Linked DNA regions of Homo sapiens: regions 2 and 3 are each linked to region 1. Evidence: promoter capture Hi-C in 16 types of primary human blood cells and fetal thymus (Javierre and others, 2016). All regions are on one chromosome and are shown on one strand. The core of a region is centred on a gene start or on the middle of the fragment in contact, and the rest is flanking DNA. Distances in the headings are between cores, read along the strand shown. Region 1 holds the start of LBH (LBH regulator of Wnt signaling pathway). Region 2 overlaps EHD3 (EH domain containing 3). Region 3 has its middle 90 kb from the start of EHD3.

What was found. The method cuts DNA at HindIII sites, captures the fragments that hold promoters and counts their contacts. A CHiCAGO score of 5 or more calls a contact.
Region 2: a fragment that was not itself captured here is called in contact with the fragment with the promoter of LBH in region 1 in 1 of 17 cell types (naive B cells); the score reaches 5.3 in naive B cells.
Region 3: a contact is called between a fragment that was not itself captured here and the fragment with the promoter of LBH in region 1, in 1 of 17 cell types (fetal thymus). The highest score is 8.6, in fetal thymus.

Annotation. Positions count from the first base shown.
Region 1 is chr2:30,230,256-30,232,955 of GRCh38, reverse strand. LBH (LBH regulator of Wnt signaling pathway) reads right to left here and starts at 1,422. Exons shown (of 3, transcript NM_030915.4): 1 at 1,192-1,422. The coding sequence starts at 1,217. RefSeq lists silencers at 423-482, 493-692, 1,083-1,172, 1,373-1,922 and enhancers at 1,726-2,240, 2,241-2,700. The HindIII fragment of the contact is 3,135 bases long and covers 1-2,700 here.
Region 2 is chr2:31,255,584-31,258,334 of GRCh38, reverse strand. The region is part of intron 3 of EHD3 (EH domain containing 3); the gene reads right to left. LOC124905983 (a long non-coding RNA gene) reads left to right here. Exons shown (of 4, transcript XR_007086270.1): 2 at 488-679. Among named protein-coding and RNA genes, the nearest start is that of EHD3, 23 kb to the right of the region's middle. RefSeq lists enhancers at 1,166-1,215, 1,301-2,128. The HindIII fragment of the contact is 2,535 bases long and covers 52-2,586 here.
Region 3 is chr2:31,322,207-31,325,113 of GRCh38, reverse strand. No RefSeq gene overlaps it. Among named protein-coding and RNA genes, the nearest start is that of EHD3, 90 kb to the right of the region's middle. The HindIII fragment of the contact is 1,483 bases long and covers 581-2,063 here.

The DNA of each region.
Region 1 (2,700 bases), core at 173-2,672:
CCCTCTCTAAACACTGCCAGGCTGGGACGGATGGGGGCAGGGAGACTAACAGAAGATGCGGGGCTTTGCGGCAAGTTTAGGTTCGGGAGCTGGGCCCTGCAAAGGCAGTTTCCTCCCGGGTCTTGGAAAGGCTGCTGGCGACCTCCAAAGAAAGGAGCCAGAAGAGCGCACGCAGGGTGAAGAGTCTGACGTAGGGGCGGCTCTTCCTCGCTCGGGGCTGTGGCGCCGGCCCGAAAAGTTGAAGCGAGAAGCATGAACTTTCCGCTTCTTGGGCCAGGCCGGACCCCGCCGCGGCTTGCGCCGGTTTTCCCTTCGCTCAGCGCCTGCCGGAGACTCGGGGCCGAGCTCCCCACGTCCGCACCTGAGAGCGCGCTCCGGGGCTGCCGGCGCTCGCCCCCGGCCGCTTCTCCTCTAACCCAGAGCAGGAAGGAAGAAACTGCCAGCAAGGAAGTCCCAGCAGTCAGGGGCCTGCCTCTCTCTGCATCCCTCCCGGCTCCGATCCCCAGTCCGGGGCAAACCTCCGACGCCCCGCGCCCGGCCCGGGCTCCTTCCCCTTCAGCACGGCGAAGGCGGCTCCTCCCAGTCCCGGCCCCCACCAATGTGCGTCGGTTTTTAGGGGCGGTGGAGAGGGCAGGGGTTGAGAGGCTGCAGCGCGTGCCCTGCTGCTTGTGGCTTTAGTGGGGTTACGTGTGGGGAGAGCGTTTCCCGCCCCCCACCCCCCCGGAGCTCTGCAAACCCTGCGGCCGCACCAGCTCAGCCCCGCTGCTGCCGGCCTCGACGTTGAGACTTGCATGCAAACAAAAAGAAAAAGAGGAGGGGCCCGGGAAGAGCAGGAGCCCCCCTGCGCCAAGTGGGGCGCGCGCCTCCTGCAGCTCTCCGCATAGGGTGGTTTCATTGGGGGGGATTCACACGTGACCCCTGGCTCCCCCGCCAACCAATACAAACCCTCCGGCCGTCACTTAGGTGAGGGCTCCGAGTTCACGTCCTTTGTCTGGATGTTCTCAGCACCCCCTCCCCCCACCCCCACCTTTGCAACCTTGACGTTGACTCCTGCACGGGCTCGGGCGGCGGGTTAGCGCTGAGCGCCCGCGCCGCCGGCTGCCCTCGCACCCGGAGCCGGCACGAAGCAGGCGCCCGGGCCCGCAGCCACCGCCGCGAGACAGACGCCCGCCGCAGGCGCAGGGTACTCACCAGTGAATGGGGAAATATATAGACATGAAGTCCTAGGGCAGGCTGACACACGCCCCTGTGATTTAAAAACGGTCCCTGCGTCCCGAGTGAGGATGACACGGGCGCAGACGGGCACGGCAGGCGGCCGAGTGCGGACACCGGGCGCTCGCCGTCCGCCTTCCCAGGACAGCCCCACGGCTAGCGACGTCGGCAAGGTGGACACAACTCCCCGCTCTCCACTGAGCACTCAGCCCCACAAAGAGCCCGGGAAGCCGTATTTATAGGGGCGGGGGCGGGGCTTGGCCCCGAGAGGCCCCGCCCTCCCTCGCCCACTCCTGGAATAACGTCACCAAAATCATGAATGGCTTCAGCGCTCGCAGCTCCGGCGGGCGGCGGCTCGGGGGCGCGCTCGGCTCTGCTCCCGGGGCCGTGGTTCGCTGCGGCTGCGAGCCCGGCCCCCTCCCGCCGCTCTCCCACGCGCACACGCGCTCACTCGCACCGGCCCGGACTCCGCGTCCGCGCCGCTTCCCGCTCACAGCCCCCTCCACGCACACCCCGAACTCCAGCGCGGCGGAGGTGGGCGCAAGGAGGGCGCGGGGGCCGCTCGGGACATGACAGCTCGGCGGCTGCTCTGCGCCGGGGTAGGGCACCCGCCACTCCTCCACCCCAGCCGCCCGGCGCCAGCGCCCTCCTTCCCATCCACTGGCTGTCCCCAGCCCACCTCGGACCCCTCTGAAGCGTTTGTTCCCCATACTAGGCCTCTCTCTGGAATCCTCGCCCGCAGCCTTGCGATCAGCGAGGGGAAACAAGAGCATGGTTAAAGAAGAAGCGGTGGGAAGGTGGCAGAGACGCGGAGCCGGGGGACCGAGTGCCCACGGGGCGCGTTGGCTTGCGAAGGGCTGGTCTGCAGCCCTGAGTTCCGTGGAAGGTTTTATTTGTGGGAGCAAGGATGTGGTGTCGTCCTGGGTAGGATTTTTCCATTGGAGACACACATACGCCCGGTCTGCAGCGGGGGCAGAAGGTGTGGGCGGGCGGTGTGCACGCCGCCCCCCATCCTTGACTCCCACGTCTTCTCCGAGGAGTCGCTCATGACAGCAGAAACAAAGAGCTTTAGCCGAACGCCTCCCACACTGCCCAGGAATTGCAGCTCTGGGCGTCTGTCCAGGCAGTCAAAGCTGCGCAGCCCCCCAGAGCCACATGATGGGAGTCTCACTCGGGACCCAGCGCTGCCGCTCTGTGGCCTCCGCTTCAATCACGCCTGTAAAATGGCTTTAGAACCCTCACCTACCTGTGTATAGGGGCTGAGGAAAGGGGGCGCGGGGAGATCAAAAACTAAGCAAAATTAAATTGGCTTTGAAGTGAATCAGCTTTTTAAAAGAAAGGCAGTGAGTGTATTGAATCCGTATATATGTACTTGAAAGTGGAAACGCATAGCTTATCTCAGGCAAAAGGATGACAGAATTAATGGCGAAGGTTCGACAGGGGTAGGACCCTGAAGGAAGCCGTGAGAGAAGACCCTCATAATTTTCA
Region 2 (2,751 bases), core at 70-2,569, 1.0 Mb before region 1:
GGGGTAGGGGGATGGGATCAGACGGTCGGGAAAACTTGCTGCCCTAAAGCTTCCTGGAGGACCCCTGTAATGTTTCCCTGGTGGCTGTAAGAGAATTCTAACAAACAAAGGAAGGTCAAACCCTCCTTTGGTTACCCGGATGCCAGTACTACTCCATTTTCAGCTCCTCTGTCTTTGGTAAATGAAGTGCTTCCAAGCATTCCCATTGCCATGTGATTTTCTCCAAGATCTGTCAGCTGCTCAATGAATATACAGCTCAACTAACACCTGAGCCTTCTCCCCCTGCTCCTGTGGCGTAGACCTATGAGGCTACGAGGAGCTTAGCCATCAATGGTCCAACTTCCTGATTTACAGATAGGGAAACTGAGGCTCAGGAAGGGGCAGAGCTGGCCCAGTATCTCCAGGTGCCATCCTGAGGATAGTTCCTGATGGGTGCGTCATCGAGGGCCTGGTGTGAACTAGATTTTGCCTTCTCTTTTGAACACAGGTGTCCTGTCTCGGCTCAGAGACAAGGCCCAGGAAAGTGCTTCAGAGGCTGCTCTGCCCAGTGGGCAGGGGCATCATCAACCCTCCCTCGGAGATGTTCACGCAAACTCTAGGAGTTAAGTGACTCAGCCAATACCACCCATGAGACACGACCCCTAGCCTCCAACTCGAAGTTCAGTGCTTGCTGCAGACGGTAAGATGTTCATGTCATTATCTCATGTCACCCTCACGACACGCTCTGAGGCAGGCAGCGCGAGGAGTATCGTTCTCACTTCCAGGGGAGGAAACTGAGGTTCAGAGAGGAGAGAGTCAAACAGTTGGCAAGTCGTGAGGCCAGATGACCCAGCTGTCAGCCATCCAGCCGTTCTGCACCTGGCCGCTCCCTGCCTCCCTCCCTCCCTCCCTGGCACGCAGGCACAGCCAGCTCCTCACTGGAGCCCGGGAAGCCTAAGCATTCCCACTTCAGGTGAAGCCTGCAGCCCGCACTACTCCCCTCCTTCCTACATCCCTCTGTCCATCCTTCCCTTCCCAGGGATGGCTCCAGCCTATTTTTATCTTCCCTTCAGCACAGCGCATGGCAAGGCTGCTGTCACCTCCCAAAGGCAGTCCCTCAGAGCTGTGGGTAGGGAGGGGCCAGAGGGCTAAGAAAATCCCCAACCCCCACCTCTGCAAACAGCTCACAGCAGGAGGGCAGTAGGGACCCTCCACAACTCCCTGCCAGGCCTCTGGCCTTCTGCTGCTCCTTATTCCCCAATCTGGATTTTAGCTGTGCCAGTGCAGGCCACAGGAGGGGCTGCTGGGAGGACCAAGACTGGGCTGCAGCTCCCTCTCACCTGTCCAGCAAATCTCAGCCCCAATATATTGGCTCAATGGCTCAGAACAGGCTAAGGCAGCCAGGGCAGCCAGTGTTGAGTCCTATGCTGACAAGGTAATGGAGGTTTATAGAGGGTGAGAGAAAGGCCCAAGGCCATGCAATGCTGGGGGTCAGAGCCAAGACCTGAACTCCAAACTCAACTCTTGCACTGTAGCCACGCCTCCACCAGGCTGGGGAAAACAAAGACACCAGAGAAGCTGCAGAGAAGGGAAGAGGCTCTGTCCCTGCAACTTGCTGCAATCCCTGATGACACCAGCGATGTAAGAGAAGGCTGTGTCTGCAAAGGCTGAGGGGCAGCAATATGTCCATGCTGCCAGAACAGGATAGACCCCTGCCTATCCCTGTCCCTGCCCTCAGTGGTCTTGTAGCATCATGCACGCTCCTGTTCTGCTCTTCAGCTCACTGAAATCATCCTCGGTGCACTGGGAGCTGGACAGGGCAGGGGCAGCACCTCACCCTTCTGGGCTTCCCCTGCACCCAGCACGGTGTGTGGCACACAGCAGGTGCACTATCAGTATTTGCTGAACGGAAGTGAAACGTGGAAAACGTGGAAACCTGTTCCACGTTTGGCATCTGGGAGACAGTAAATGAGTAATCTCTGGGCCTCAGTTTTATGGTTGAGGAATCAGTGACTCAGTCGTAGGGTTATTGTGAGGATCTAAACAAATCAGAGGATGCAGGTGAAACTGCTGAGCTGTGACCTTGGCTGTTCTCATTGCCCTGCTGTTTTTTGTAAAGCACTCCTTTTAAGCCCTAGTTTCTATGAGATGGGATGTGCTCTGTAGGAGTCACCAGAGGAGCACTGGCCTGGGTGAGTCCACCTCTCGTTTCCGCTTAGCCACTAACTTACTGTGTGTCCTTGGGCAAGAATCTCCCCTCTCTAGTCCTCTGTCTCTTTGCCTGTCAAATCAGGGGATTGAGCTGGACAACCTCCGAGCTTCCTTTCTCGGTTCACAATTCTCTGCATCTGAGACCAGAGGTGTGAGGGTGGGGAGTACAACAGGATGGATGGAGATTAGCTACAAGGGACCCTTTGCAGGCACAGCAAGAGAGAGAGGCTGCAGGCTGCTGTCTTACAGGCCTCGGGGATGCCTGTGTGAAGTCTGCCTCTGCCTGAGGACAGGCCAAGGGCTTCTGGGAACTCTTTCCGTGATTTTATAAGCAGAGGCCTCCTATTTGCTCTGGAAAGCTGCTATCCAATTACAGACTCAGTAATGCCAGAAGCTTCCAGCCAGGTGTGGCTGTGAAGACCATGACCATCAAGCAATGACTCCATGGGTTGCTCTGAAGCTCGACTTCCCTGCTCCTGGCTAACCCCGAGGCTGTGTCATCTGTAGGGTGGATATTTAGTTGTTCACTTGGCCTGGACTTAGGTGCAGATCTAGGAATGG
Region 3 (2,907 bases), core at 73-2,572, 1.1 Mb before region 1:
CTTCCCTTTTCAATGTAGCGAACAATTTTGAACATGCCTCCTTCTGCAATGCATGAGAGCTTTCCTCTAAGGCACATAGCCCACACTGGAATTTTGGAGCATACCTTCCCCATTTCTTTATTTTCAACTGTTCGTGTCACGTTTTATTGAGTCTCTAATAAATAATACACATAGTTTGTGTATGGTTTGGCCTCTTATGAATAGCATGCATGATGGACGTGTGTGTTTAAATGCAATCTAAGGATATTTCTCTTTTAACTGGCAAAACAATGTGTTTACATTAATTGTGATTAATAGCCTATTTTGACATTTCTATCATCTCATTTGGTGTGTCACTACTGACCATGTTCTTTCTCTTTTTCTCATTGTCTGCTGTTGGCTTAATCAAGCATCCCTGTCCCCCGACCCTTCCCCTGCCCCACCATTCTCCCCACCTCATTCTTTATATGAGTTTCGTGCTTCTACATCCTATTTCTATTCTTTTAGAAGTCATCTCTGTATTTTTAGCATGCACACTTGATTCAGCAAAGCCTATGTTTAATTAATATTTCTATGTTGTCACCAAACAGGATGAGAAGCTTAGAATGCATTAATTGATTTTCCCCTCTCTTCCTCCGTGTGGCTATAATCAAGTGTTTCAGTTTCACTTTAACACTCTGATTAGTCATTGTTGTTATTCTTGTACAGGCAAATATTTAGTTTTACTCATACGCTTACCTTTGTTTTTCTCGTTATTGCTTTCTTATTCCACTCCCTCCTTCTGGCTTCAATTTCCTTCTTTTAGAAACACACGCTTTCATAGTTTTTCAGCCAGAGTTTGTGAATGGCAAGCTCTGTCTCTTTTTGTTAAAAAAAAAAAAGGCTTTATTTTGCCCTCATTCATAAATGATGATTTTGCTGAATTAGCTGCTATTGATTTAGCTGAGTAGTTATATTTCCCAAACCCTTGGAATGTATTTTTCTGATGCCAGCGTAATTGTCTTTCTTTTGCAGGCACTATCTCTTCTCTGGCTGTTTTTCTTCTGTTAAAGTATTCTATTTTAAGGTGTTCTGTTGTCTAGGCATGGATTAACTTTTTACCTATTATTCTTGGAATTCACCATGCTTCTTTATCCTGAGAACTTGTTTTCAAGTCTGGAAAATTCTAAGCCCTTATTTATTGCAACATTATTTCTCCTCCATTCTCTCTATCCTTTCTTTCCTTAACTTCTAAATAGATTTGTACTGAAACTTCTAATTCTATCCTCCATGTATCTTTAGGCCTCATATTTCTCATCTCTATCTCTGTGGTGCTTTCTGGGTAATTTCCTAGGTCTACATTTCAATTATTTAATGATCTCTTCAACTCTGTCTATTTTCATGTTTAAGTAAATCGAGTTTTTAGTCTTAGTTTCTTTACTTTTATTTTCATACATTCTGATTTTTTTTCACATTCACTTGAGTTAGTACAGACTAGGTTATGCTACAGAAAGAAAATAATCCCAAATTTCCCAATCTCCATGATTGAATACAGCAATAGTTTATTTCTCACTCCTTTGTACCCAGTGGATTTTGGTGGGGTCTGTTCTACACGGTCACTCAGAGACCAAGGACGAAAGAGGCTCCATCATCTAGCAGTTGCACTACCTGGAATATGAGGCTTACTGGGTGTCTGCAACAGGGAAACGGACATCTGGAGGATGTCACATTAGCTATCCTATGGCCAATATTGGAATTAACACGCAGCACCACCTGCCACAGACCACTGGCCAGAACAAGTCATGTAGCTCTACCAAGTGCCAGTGCATGGGGAATTTTGGTAGTGCTTCGTATGTGATGATCGACACTATTTCCTTTTCCATTTATTGTATTTTATCATTGTGTTCTACTCCTTCTTTCATCTCTTTAAAACAAGTAAAATGCTTAGAACAATGCTTACCATGTAGTAAGAACTTCACAGAAGTGTTTTCTAACATTTTAAGTACAATTTATTTTTAACAGATTTTACAAGTTCTCATAGTCTAATTCTTTCCTTCAATGTGGAATATTTATTCACATAGATCATTTTTTTTTCATTATAAGCTTATTCTCAATGAGTGTTCCGTTTCCTGTGGTGAACTTGTGCTCTGTGGGTTGGGGAACGATTCCCTATAGAGCACATGTGTCTTCTGTGCTTTTATTGCCTTTTTATCAGTTCAAAGGTGAGCTTCTACCATGTGTGCTGGGTAAATATAGACCCCACACCTGGAATTTTGATTTTTCATATAAACTTTTTGTTTTCTTTTCTTCCCAAGAACTCTGAGTAGATACAATGCTTTCTTGCTGCTTCCACAGGCTAATGAATAGTTTTTTCTCTCCCCTCTTCATGGGTACTCTACATAGGGTGCTTTCCAACACTACAACCGATTCTCTGATTCTCTGGACACCAGAGTGTCCAACAGTTCAGATCAATTCTGACACTAACTACCTGGAGTTATCACAGACCTCACAGCCTAATGGCTCAGTCTCATAAGACTGCCCCTGCTTCAGTGCCAGGCCTCCTGTACTTCTGGCCAACTGGCTATAAATAGGGGTTCCCATGCCTCTCTCCTCATGTTTGATAGTTTGCCAGGACAGCTCACAGAACTCAGGAATGCACTTTACTTACATTGACCAGCTTATTATAAAGGATGCAAATGAGCAACCAGATGAGTTCCAGGCATATAGGGAACATAGGAAAAGGTCTGAAGGGTCCTAAGTGCAGGAGCTTCTGTTCTATGGAGTTGAGGTGCCCCCATCTCCTGGCACATGGATGTGTTCAACCCGGAAGCTCCCTGAACCCCATCGTTTAGAGGTTTTTTATGGAGGTTGGATCACATAGGCACACTCTATTATTAACTCAATCTCCAGCCCCTCTTCCCTCCTGGGGAGGATGGGGTGGTGTGGGAG